Regions from separate parts of the Homo sapiens genome. Here region 2 is linked to region 1. The links are contacts of gene promoters, found by promoter capture Hi-C in blood cells and fetal thymus (Javierre and others, 2016). All regions are on one chromosome and are shown on one strand. The core of a region is centred on a gene start or on the middle of the fragment in contact, and the rest is flanking DNA. Distances in the headings are between cores, read along the strand shown. Region 1 holds the start of DLEC1 (DLEC1 cilia and flagella associated protein). Region 2 holds the start of ACVR2B (activin A receptor type 2B).

Region 1 (5,616 bases), core at 1,827-4,326:
CAGTGGCACACTCTTGTAATCCTAGCACTTTGGGATGCTGAGGCGGGCAGATCACTTGAGGTCAGGAGTTGGAGACCAGCCTGGCCAACATGGTGAAACCCCATCTCTACTAAAAATACAAAAATTAGCCAGGCATGGTGGTGCATGTCTGTAATCCCAGCTACTCAGGAGGCTGAGGCAGGAGAATCGCTTGAACCCAGGAGACGGAAGTTGTAGTGAGCCAAGATCGTGGCACTGCACTCCAGACTGGGCAACAGAGCGAGACTCTGCCTCAAAAAAATAAATAAATAAATAAATGGCAGCTGTGTTTGTCTACAATGCAGGTATAATTCATTCTTTTTAACAACTTTGTAGTATTCCATAGTGTGAATATACCATAATTTATAAAGTCAACTTATCTTTGCATAGTTGTATTTCTTTTTTTTTTTTTTTTTTTGAAACGGAGTCTCGTTCTGTCGCCCAGGCTGGAGTGCAGTGGTGCAGTCTTGGCTCATTGCAACCTCCGCCTCCTGGGTTCATGCAATTCTCCTGTCTCAGCCTCCCGAGTACCTGGGATTACAGTCACACACCACCACGCCCGGCTAATTTTTGGTATTTTTAGTACAGACAGGGTTTCACTATGTTGGTCAGACTGGACTCAAACTTCTGACCTCGTGATCTGCCCGCCTCGGCCTCCCAAAGTGCTGGGATTATAGGCGTGAGCCACCACGCCCGGCCGCATAGTTGTATTTCTATAGGGGATCACTCTTTAAACTTTTCTGCATTCTGAAATTTCTGCAATTTTAAAACTTCAAATGTTTAAATTAAATTTCAGCTTCTAAATTAAGATTTTTATAATGTGGGCCAGGCACAGTGGCTCACACCTGTAATACCGGCATCTGGAGAGGCTGAGGTGGAAGGATCAATTGAGGCCAGAAATTTGAGACCAGCCTGGGCAACATAGTGGGACCCCATCTCACAATTTTTAAAAAATAAAAATTTAGGCCAGATGTGGTGGCTCATGCCTGTAATCCCAACACTTTGGGAGGCCAAGGTGGGCAGATCACGAGGTCAGGAGATCGAGACCATCCTGGCTAACACAGTGAAACCCTGTCTCTACTAAAAATACAAAAAAATTAGCCAGGTGTGGTGGCAGGCGCCAGCTACTCAGAAGGCTGAGGCAGGAGAATGGCATGAATGTGGGAGGTGGAGCTTGCAGTGAGCTGAGATTGCGCCATGCACTCCAGCCTGGGTGACAGAGTGAGACTCCATCTCAAATAAATAAATAAATAAATAAATAAGCTGGGCATACTGGTGCACACCTGTGGTCCTAGCTACTCCAGATGCTGAGGAGGGAGGATCAGTTGAGCCCCTGATGTTAAGGCTGCAGTGAGCTGTGATCACATCACTGCACTCCAGCCTGGGCAACAGAGCCAGACTCTGTCAAAAAAAAAAATTTGTAATATGTATTACTTTTTTTCTTCAAAAAAAGGGATCACTATTTGCCAATTCAGACTCTGGTATAGTGGCTACTTATGGGACAGATACTGAGAAGATAGAATCCAGTGAACTGGGTGACTGGTCATGGGGTTTATAGGTTTATAATGCTCCATATATTCTGGCTCATGTGAATGACAGGGATGTGAGTCTGAAGTTCAAGGGCAAGGTCTGGCTGGGTAGGCTGAAGTCTTAGCAGAGTGAATGTGGTGACCCACGAATCACAGAGTACAGGATCCCAGCCAGGGGCTCTGGCTGCACTTTAAGAAGCCTATAACCCGTGGAGGCGGCGAGACTGGTCCTGTAAGTATCTCACATACTGTATAGGTATTCATTTTGTTAATGTCTATCTACCTCAGTTAGGTTGAAAGCTACAGAGGACAGGTTGCGTGTGTGAGTGTGGGTGTGCCCGAACACTGGCGTTTTTATTCACTGCTGAATCCCCACTGCCTAGAACAGAGTATGACACCCAGCAGACATTCAACAAATGTGTTAAGTGAAGGAATGACTGAAGCTAACGACGTGGGATGCATGTCACTTAAGGGGCAGGTAGAGGACAGAACAGAAAGGAGAAGAAGAAGATCTGAGAGGCAGGAAGCACACCGGGGTAAAGGATCGGGTATGGGAGGAGTGCCCACAAGTTTAAGGGAGTCTTCAGTAGTGTGGCCAGCAGAGGCCGACTCAGCACAGAGGCCGCGAGTCAGCTGGTTTTCTCCTTGTACAGATGAGGAAGCAGAGTTGCTGTTCTAGAGGCTAGACACGCTTCCTAAAATCTGCGCATGAATGGCCCAGTCAAGATTGTGGTTTGTGATACAAAGGCACCCCAAAGCCGGGTGACTTTTGGCTTTATCCTCTCCATGGAACAACTATTCAGCGGTCTGCCGCAGTCGTTCATTGATATATGCAATATATAACGTATGTGTCTAGAGAAATATAGACAGGTGCTACAGATATATGCCGCACGTTGTGTGGTATGTGTGGTATTTGCGCATGTGTGTGTATGGATAGAGCGTCCTTCCACTAGAATGTCGGGCCCACTTCGGCATGATGGGCTGTTTCTCAACTGCAGCCCCAGATCCTGGAACAGCGCCTGGCACCTGGCAGGTGCTGACGCGTGCCGAGCGCTGAGACCCCGGCACCGTCCGCAGACGCGACGCCACCGCCACGTTACCTGCTGCAGCTGGTCCACGAACTCCTCGTGGCGCTCATTCTCGCTGCCGCGGGCCTTGATCAAGCTTGCGCTCACTTCGTCGCCGATGACCTCGGCTGAGTACAAGTTGCGGAAGACGCCGGTGAGCAAGTGCGAGATATCTTGGGTGCGCAGCGAGGAGGGGCGCAGACGAAGCAGCTGAGGCTCGGGACGCTGCGCCAGCGCAAGCTGCGTGAGGCGGCGGGGCCGGGCTGCGAAGCTGTAGTGGAAGGCCTCAGAGTAGGCGAGGGAGGAATACAAGGAGGACTTCCAGGTGGGCTGGCTGGGGCTGCTGGACCCGGCTGGTGGCGAAGTTGGCGCCCACATTGTCCCCTGGCACTCGTTGGTCCGGGACGCTAAAGACCTCCGCGTTTTGGAGCTCCTGGTCTCCATGGCAACCGAGACGCCGCTAACTCCCTGCGGCACTTCGGCTTCCGGCCTCACCCCTTCCGCCTTGCCTTTCTCTCGGATCCCGTCATCGCTGTGGTCATTGTAAACATTTGTGTCTTCAGCATTGTCCTTTTAAAAGTGAGCTTACTAAGTGTGAGGACCCATGAAGAAAGGTTTAATTGACACAGCCAGGCCTATCTGCAAAACCTTGTACCTAACTACCTACCTTCATCCATTCTTTAATTTGTTAAGCAACTGTTCATTCACTCATCATATTTATTGTGTAAAGATTGTGTTTCAGGTCTGTGCTGATTGCTGAAGATACCAAAGAAGTATGATGCTGCTTCTGCCTTCAGGAAGTGCACAGTCGTGTATGTGTGTGTTTGTGATGATGGCGGTGGGTGTGGAGGTAAAAGTAAAACAACTGTACTTTAGTGGGTTAAGGCCAAGGTGGAGATAAATATTGGTTGTCATGGAACTACAAAGGAGGACAGGAACTTAGTCTGTAGAAGGAGCGATTACTTCTTGGAACAAATGAAAACCAAGCAGAGATTTCAAAGAAGGAGTAGACTGAACATCATTAGTCATCAAAGAAGTGGAAATTAAAACCACAATGCAGTACTACAGTTAGTAGAATGACAAAAAACAAAAAAGTACCTAAATAAGAGCGTGTGTGTGGTGGCTCACACCTGTAATCCCAACACTTTGGGAGGCTGAGGCACGAGGATCACTTGAAGCCAGGAGTTTGAGACCAGCCTGGGCAACATAGGGAGACCCCATCTTTACAAAATATTTAAAAATGTGGGAAGGACGGAATGAAATTCAGGAGGAGTGGAACTTAAAGAGTGTGAGGGTGGAGGAATGACACTGATAGGTTAGGGCCAGATCATAAGTGGGTTGGTAGGCCACAATAGGGAATTTGGACTTTATTTTGAGGGCAGTAGGAGGTTCATCAAGGGTCTTAAGCTGGGGCATGTCATGGTCAGCTCTGTTTTACTAAGATCATTCTGATTGCTATGAGAATAGACAGGAGAGGCAAGAGGCATCAGGAAGTTCAGTTAGGAAACTAGCACAGAAGTTAGGAAAGAGATGAAGGGAGATTGGATGAGAGAGAGGGAACTGGATTGGAGATAGATCCAAAAAGTAGAATTGATAAGACTTGCTGGTGGATAATGGGAGGTAAGAAACAGGCACCAAGAATGACTCCCAGGTATCCTGTGTGTGCAATCAGGGGGGTGATGACAGCATCACTGAGATGGAAAAGAGGACTGCATTTGTCCAGGGCAGCAGCATAACATCACATTGACTGTTGTCATTTGCACACCATGGCTTTTGCTCACAGGTGATACAACCAACCACTTTCTACTCCACACTGAGTTTGCTTGCCTTACATCCTGAAACCCACTTCCAGAGATGAGTGCTAGCATGCTTGCCCACACACCTGGGCTACTTCCACTTCTACTTCTCTTGGTTGGGCCTGGCTCTCTCTTTTGTCCTTTCCAGGACCTTTTCTGTCCTGAGAGCTGAGAAGCCAGGGCCGCCTGCCCTGGACTGTGTGCTTGAGAGGCCCATCTCTGGCTGTCCCCCGCACTCTTTCCCACAGAGTAAGAGATCACAGGGCCAAGATGATGTGCCCCGTGCCTCGCCTCCAGGCACATGGGACCCCAAAAGTATGTGCCCACATGTCCTGAGTTCATTCCAGGGCCTATGCAGGCCTCTTCTTTAAGTTTATCCTCCCAGGGCTGACTTAAAAGGGTAGCTATGGTGGGGGGAGGAGGAGGGAAGTGGAGGGAGCTTTGGCAAACAGGCATTTCTCCAATTTTCCACAAGCATGCAAGGCCCCCAGTGGTGCAGGAAGGAGCTGTGGGTAGGAAGAGGGGTGCAACAGTCTGGGGGCCTCCATTGCTCTAATGTGGCAAATGGAGCCCCAGTTGGGTGGTCTTGTCATTTAGGAGCAGTTCCGCTTGTGGAGGCTCTCTGGCCCCCTTCCCTGTTATAGGGAAGGACAGGACAATGGACTCTTGCCATTACTTTTGGCTTCTCCACCCTGCCTCTAGACAGCCTCAGAGACAGTCACAGAGTCTGACTAGCCTGGGAGAGGTCTCCCTTTGCATGACCCCTCCCCCCTCTGGCTCCAGGCTAAGGTTACCAGCAACCCTCCTGTCTCTCCAGTGGCAACAGTCCCCCCTCAGTCCTCATCTCAGCAGCCTCTGGTGCTGCTGCCCATTCCCTCCGACTGACACACTCTCTTCCCTGCCTCCCTATTTCTTCTGTGCATCACCTATCTCCACCCTCGGGTCCCTGTTCTACCAGTATCTCTCTGCTTGATAAACTGGATTCATCCCTGATTCTACCATGCCCAGCATTCAATTTCTGTTTGCTCCCTGGCTAACTGGAGAAATGAATGGCTGCGACCCTGCACTGGTAACAGGGCTCAGGTCACTTTTGGAACCACTCTTCAGCTCCCCTCCCCTGGGGACTTCATCGGCACAAAGGGAATTCCTTGTGAGTTGCTGTCTTCATTTTATAACCCGTTCTATTGACTACATTCTTGTTTGTTT
Region 2 (5,616 bases), core at 838-3,337, 410 kb before region 1:
GGAAGCTCTCCTAAAGGCCTGGGCTTGGAAGAGCCCCAGCACTTCCAGGGATCAGGCACCCAGCGGGTCTGGAGGCAGTCAGGTGGGCTGCGGTCTGCCTATCAAGTCAGCTTGCTGCCGCCCTCCCTCTAGCAGACCAATGCCTCCCCTTTCACTTTCGAGCACTCCTTCTTGGGGAAAAGGCATCCCAAGGGAGCGGGGCAAAAAAGAGCAGAAAGTCCAACACGACCACCACTTCGCCTCCAAGAAGCGGCTCCAGGAGAGCTGCAACGCCCTCTTCCATACGGTACTCAGGTGCCAGCTGGTCTTTGCCCTTCGGTTTCCGGACTCAGGCTGCGCGCGCGCGCGCTACTACCCTACAGAACTCACTCGCTTTCGGTGTAAACTAAGCCTCACGACGACGCACAGGAGAAGGTAGAACCAGGGTGGGAATGGGACGCAGATCCCAAATCCCCACCCCCGCAGCAGCGTGGGGACTCCGGCCCCGCCCCTGCACGCCCGGCCCCGCCCCTCGAGGGTTTCCCAGACTCCAGGCGGCTGCCACCGAGGGCGGCGGGGGACCCGCGCTGCATGTGTAATGGGGGCTGGGAACAAAGACGCGCAGGACCCGGCGGCCGGGTACCAGCCGCCCCGACCTTCTCGCCAGAGCTTCAATGCCCAGCTCCCCACGTTTCCCAGGACTGGCCAGGGGACGTCCCGGCGCGCCCGCCGGGGTTAGGCGCACCCCGGCACCACTGAGAGAGGGAAATCGGTGCTTGGACCGTAGGAGAAACAAGCTTTCCAGGCGGAACTCCGCTTGTTTACGCCCGCGCCCACATACCCCCAAACACACATGCGCTGGCCGAACACCTCCAGCCACACGCCCGCAGCCGCGGGCGAGCTGAGCGCTGGTCACCCACCCCGCCACGTGCCTCCTGGAGGCCCGAAGGAAGAGGGACCTGTTGGGTTTTCCATCTTACCCACCCCCTCCCCTCCCAAGTGCCCAAACAAAGCGGTCCCGCGAAGCGACCACACTCCGCATCCCGGGGCCAACGGCAGGGAAAGAGGGAGCAGGTGGGAGCCAGCACCAACAGCCCGCCGGGCCGGTAACGCGACGCAGACTGGTGGCAAGAGATGCAGGGGACTTTGGGCTGCGTGAAGCCGCCCCCTTCGCTTCGCTACACTTAGTGACTCTGAGGGACATGCAACCCTCCCCGCATGCTGCTGCTGCTGCTGCACCTACAATCCTGCCACCCCCAATGAGATCTGCCCACCCCTCTTGGCCGCCTTCCCCACGCTCAGGTTTTCCTCACTCTTTCCCTGGGTTCCACGCGCCCGCGTAGCCCGAACTCCGACCCTGAGGCTCCGCGTCCCGGCCCCCATCGCAGGGGCGCCTCTAGGAACCAGAATCCCGCAGATGACTGCACAGACAAGATCGTGCCCCCAAGTTCGGCGAGCCGGGCGCCCACCGCGCCCCCAGCCCACGCCCCCGGAGGTGAGGGCTGAATACAGGTGGTGCGGCGACGAGGCCCCGGGCCCGCCCTTTGTTGGTAAACACCGCGCGGCGCCAGAGGCCAGCCCCGCGCGCCCTCTCGGCGTCCCCGCGCCGCGCCCAGTTCTTACCGGCGCACAGCGATCCCCAGAGGAGGGCGAGGGCCACCCAGGGCGCCGTCATGTTCCGCGGCGCCGCCCCGCGCACACCCGGAGCCCGCGGGCAGGGCCGCACGGCGCTCCCGGGGCGCGCAGGGCCAGGCGGCGGCTGCGCTCTCCTTCCCGCTCCTTCCTTCGGTCTCGTTCCCTGCGCGCTTCCTGCGCCTTCGTCCCCGAGCAGCGTTCGGGCTCCAAGGGCCGGTCGGCGGGGCCGGGCTCAGGGCCGCTGCGGGCGGCGCAGGCTGCGGCCCGGGCTCCGGGGCGACGCGGGGGCCGGGGGGCGGCGGCGGGGCACGGGCCGGGGCGCGCCCGACTCAGGCATAGCGCGGCGGGGCTGGGCCCGGGCCCCGGGCGCAGGGGCCGAGTCCGGAGGGGCCATGAACGGGGGGAGGGGTGGGGGGGAGGGGAGCTGAACCGAGTCCAAAATGGCTCCTGAGCGGCGGCCACGGAGCCGAGCCAGCGGGGAAACCCGGATGTTGGATACAAAGAGGCGGGCGGGCTGGGCGGGGAGGGGGAGGGGAGGCGGGCCCTCCGGCCGCGTGGTCCGCGCCCCCCTGAGGGGCGGGGCCCCAGAGAAACAACAACACGGAGGCCCCGCCCCCATCCCGCGCCCTGTGGGAGGACGCGCGTGCACCAACTTGCTGGAGGACAGGGCGGGGCGCGCGGACGGAGGTGGCGGGAATGGGCTCCTGACCACTTTGCCCGGGAGCCTGTGGCCACTGCACTCGCAATTAGTGCCCCGCACGCTCGAGCCCAAGCTCCTGACACATGCTGCCCTACAACCCCGGAATGAGTGGATAGTCCCGGGACTCTGGCCCAGACGCCTCTGTGCCTTGGATTCCCCACCTGTGCAATGGGGGTGACAGTGAACCGTGGGAAAGTCGGATCTCTACTGATGGGCGAATTAAGTGGCAGAAAGAGGCTGACTTCCCTGAATTGACAAGCAGTCTCCCGTCTGCAATCCCTTGCCACACACTCAAAGGCACAGCTAGGGCGGGGAGTGGTCATTTAAACCCAACCAAGTGAGGGAGCGGGCAGAGTCCCGCCCCTCTAAGCCCAGCAGGTGGAAAAGGGCCTCTGGCAACCTGCTGGCCCTCCCTAATCCTATCTTGTCTTCTGCAGTTCCTGCGCCACCCACAGCGGCCCTGAGCTTCAATCTGCACTTTCAAAACTTCCCAGTTGCCTCCAGAGCCCTGCAGTTGAAGATCTTGTCTAGCACATGGTTTTGCTGTTTTCCTCACCCCGAACTCCCTCCTTGGAGGGCCATCGTTCTCTGTCTCAGATTCCACCCTCCTTATCACACAACTAGAGCTTCGGAGGAACGTGATGGGGCTCCCAACTAAGGAGGGAAAGACCATCATAGCTCAGGGATGAGGCTCCGAGATCCTCAGATAACATTAATTGTCCTCTGTCTTCTCTTGACTTGGCACATCCTTGCTTGGAGCAGGGCAGGAGCAGCTGAAAGGGAGGTGGCACCTGGAGGTCTCAGTCATTTCACTTCTCTGAGCCTCAGTTTTCCCATATGCAAAGTGAAGAGGTACACTCCCTCAGGGTTTTGCATCTTCTTAATGGCAGAAACCTAGTCAAACAAAATATTATGTAAATGTTCACTATAGGCAGGGCGAGGTGGCTCAAACCTGTAATTCCAGCACTTTTAGAGGCCCAGGAGGCTCTTGAGGTCAGGAGTTCGAGACCAGCCTGACCAACATGGCAAAAACCTGTCTCTACTAAATAATACAAAAATTAGCTGGGCATGGTGACACACACCTGTAATTCCAACTACTCGGTAGGAGGCTGAGGCAGGAGAATCGCTTGAACACAGGAGGGAGGCGGAGGTTGCAGTGAGCTGAGATTGCACCACTGCACTCCATCCTAGGTGACAGAGTGAGACTCTCTCTCAAAAAAAAAACAAGTTTATAAAGGAATGTATATTGTTCTGATTGACATTGAAATAGGGTCAACTACCCCCGGTCACCAGAGCAGCAGGAACACCTCAGGGGCCACACTTTGGAGGCACTGCCCAGAAAGATTTCTGGGTCTTTAAAAGTCCCTTCCAGTCCTGGGAAATTCTATGTGAAAATGATGGTCCCTGCTTGCTATAATCCCTACAGGTGACTTATTATCTAAGCCATTTAACACAGGATTGAATACTATGCGACTGTGTGCCAAGCAAGAAGCAGTGTTGTATGGGACACCCTAGCTGTGTATAAGGTATCTGGTAATAACACAGGAGGCCACAGTGATAGACTGTGATAACGGAAGTAATTCCATATCCAGTTTAAGTGTCTTTTCTAGGGAGTATAAATCGTTATCTCCATTCCAATATGGACTGAAAGGTATCGACTTTTATCCATGTGCCAAAAATTAGATTGGCTGGTTCCTCTCTTCTACTCCATACCAGGTCAGGTATCATAATAAGGACTCAGAGTGGTCCAAGCTGCCCAAATATCTGTGTCTTCCACTCTGACCTGTCTGGGAACCCCAAATTTATATCCAACTGCTTACTTGACAACTGCAGTTGGTAGCCTATCAGGCATCTCAAATTTGACCTAGCCAAAGCAGAAGTCCTCATTTTCCCCGTAAATCTCCTCCCCAGTTTTCCCTGTCTGAATCAATGGCATAAGCAACTACACCATTGCTCAAATCAGAACCTTATGAGTCCTACTGAAACCAGCCAAAGAGTCCCATAGACAGTTGTTTTTGTTTTTGTTTTTGTTTTTGTTTTTGAGACAGAGTTTGGCTCTTATTGCCCTCACTGGAGTGCAGTGGCACGATCTCGGCTCACTGCGACCTCCACCTCCTGAGTTCAAGTGATTCTCCTGCCGCAGCCTCCCAAGTAGCTGGAATTACAGGCACGCCACCATGCCCAGCTAAGTTTTGTATTTTTAGTAGATACAGGGTTTCATCATGTTGGCCAGGCTGGTCTTGAACTCCCAACTTCAGGTGACCTGCCTGCCTCAGCCTCCCAAAGTGCTGGGATTATAGAAGTTGACCCTTTTGCAGTTAAAGCTGGAAACTTACTTGTTTTATCCGAGTTCCTTCCTCAGGAAAGGACCTTCAGGCCTCTCACAAAAAGTATCAAAGAACTGAAGCCATAAAAAGTATCAAAAGAACTGAAACCAGATCACTGCACTAGATGCTGGGCCCCTCAGTCACCATGATTGCTTCCTTGCCCCTCCCATGTTCCTGTTTTCTTACATATTGTTACATTTCTTTCCTGCTATATAAACCCTTGGTTTTGGTCAGTCAAGGAGATGGATTTGAGACTGCACTCCCATCTCCTTGGCTGCAGCACCTGATTAAAGCCTTCTTCCTTGGCAATACTTGTCATCTCAGTGATTGGCTTTCTGTGCACCGAGCAGCAGGACCTAGACCAAACCCCTGGTGTTTCGGTAACAATACTTGATTCCTCCCATATACAGTCCATCAGCAAAATAGCCTCAAAAGTGTATCCACCATCCGACTACTTTTTTCCATGTACACTACTGCAACATTGTCTTATATCTGGACTGTTGCAATAGCAGTGAACCAGAAGGGAGCTTAACTGGTCCTCTGAATTCATTCTTGCCTTAAATAAATCTTCCATATAGTAACCAAAGTGATTCCCTGCCATCATTTTGATCATGAGCTCATCAAGCAAATACTAGGCTGGTTGAGAAAGGTGATAATGGATATTTGAAAAACGAGTTCTATTTGGGTTTTCTGTTCTTTTGAACGACTACAAGATTGCTAAATATCACATTTGGTATCAGACATCGGGTGACCAAAAACTGAAAGGCAAAAAAAATCTGAAACCCCAAATGTCTGCTGTAGAATTTATGGCAGTGAATTCTGCCATTAAGGCATTCAGTGTGTTAGGACCACTATTCCCTGGCTTCCCCACCCTTCAACAATCAAGACCAGAAACCAAGGAATTGAGAAGAATCAGTTGAACATGACATTCTTTAGTATCAAGCTATGGAAGAAGATGGAAAACTATAGCATTGT

What was found. Contacts are between HindIII fragments. The CHiCAGO score rates a contact against its expected background, and 5 or more counts as called.
Region 2: a contact is called between the fragment with the promoter of ACVR2B here and the fragment with the promoter of DLEC1 in region 1, in 1 of 17 cell types (fetal thymus). The highest score is 6.1, in fetal thymus.

Annotation. Positions count from the first base shown.
Region 1 is chr3:38,036,668-38,042,283 of GRCh38, reverse strand. DLEC1 (DLEC1 cilia and flagella associated protein) reads right to left here and starts at 3,076. Exons shown (of 37, transcript NM_007335.4): 1 at 2,648-3,076. The coding sequence starts at 3,058. RefSeq lists enhancers at 2,282-2,511, 2,802-3,011. The HindIII fragment of the contact is 3,706 bases long and covers 2,714-5,616 here.
Region 2 is chr3:38,450,361-38,455,976 of GRCh38, reverse strand. ACVR2B (activin A receptor type 2B) reads right to left here and starts at 2,087. Exons shown (of 11, transcript NM_001106.4): 1 at 1,603-2,087. The coding sequence starts at 1,654. It overlaps ACVR2B-AS1 (ACVR2B antisense RNA 1), which reads left to right and starts at 1,157. Exons shown (of 2, transcript NR_028389.1): 1 at 1,157-1,474; 2 at 2,752-4,950. It also overlaps a transcript of XYLB not described here. RefSeq lists silencers at 418-597, 1,408-1,687, 2,108-2,227, 2,238-2,287 and enhancers at 233-817, 818-1,401, 2,006-2,505. The HindIII fragment of the contact is 9,112 bases long and covers 779-5,616 here.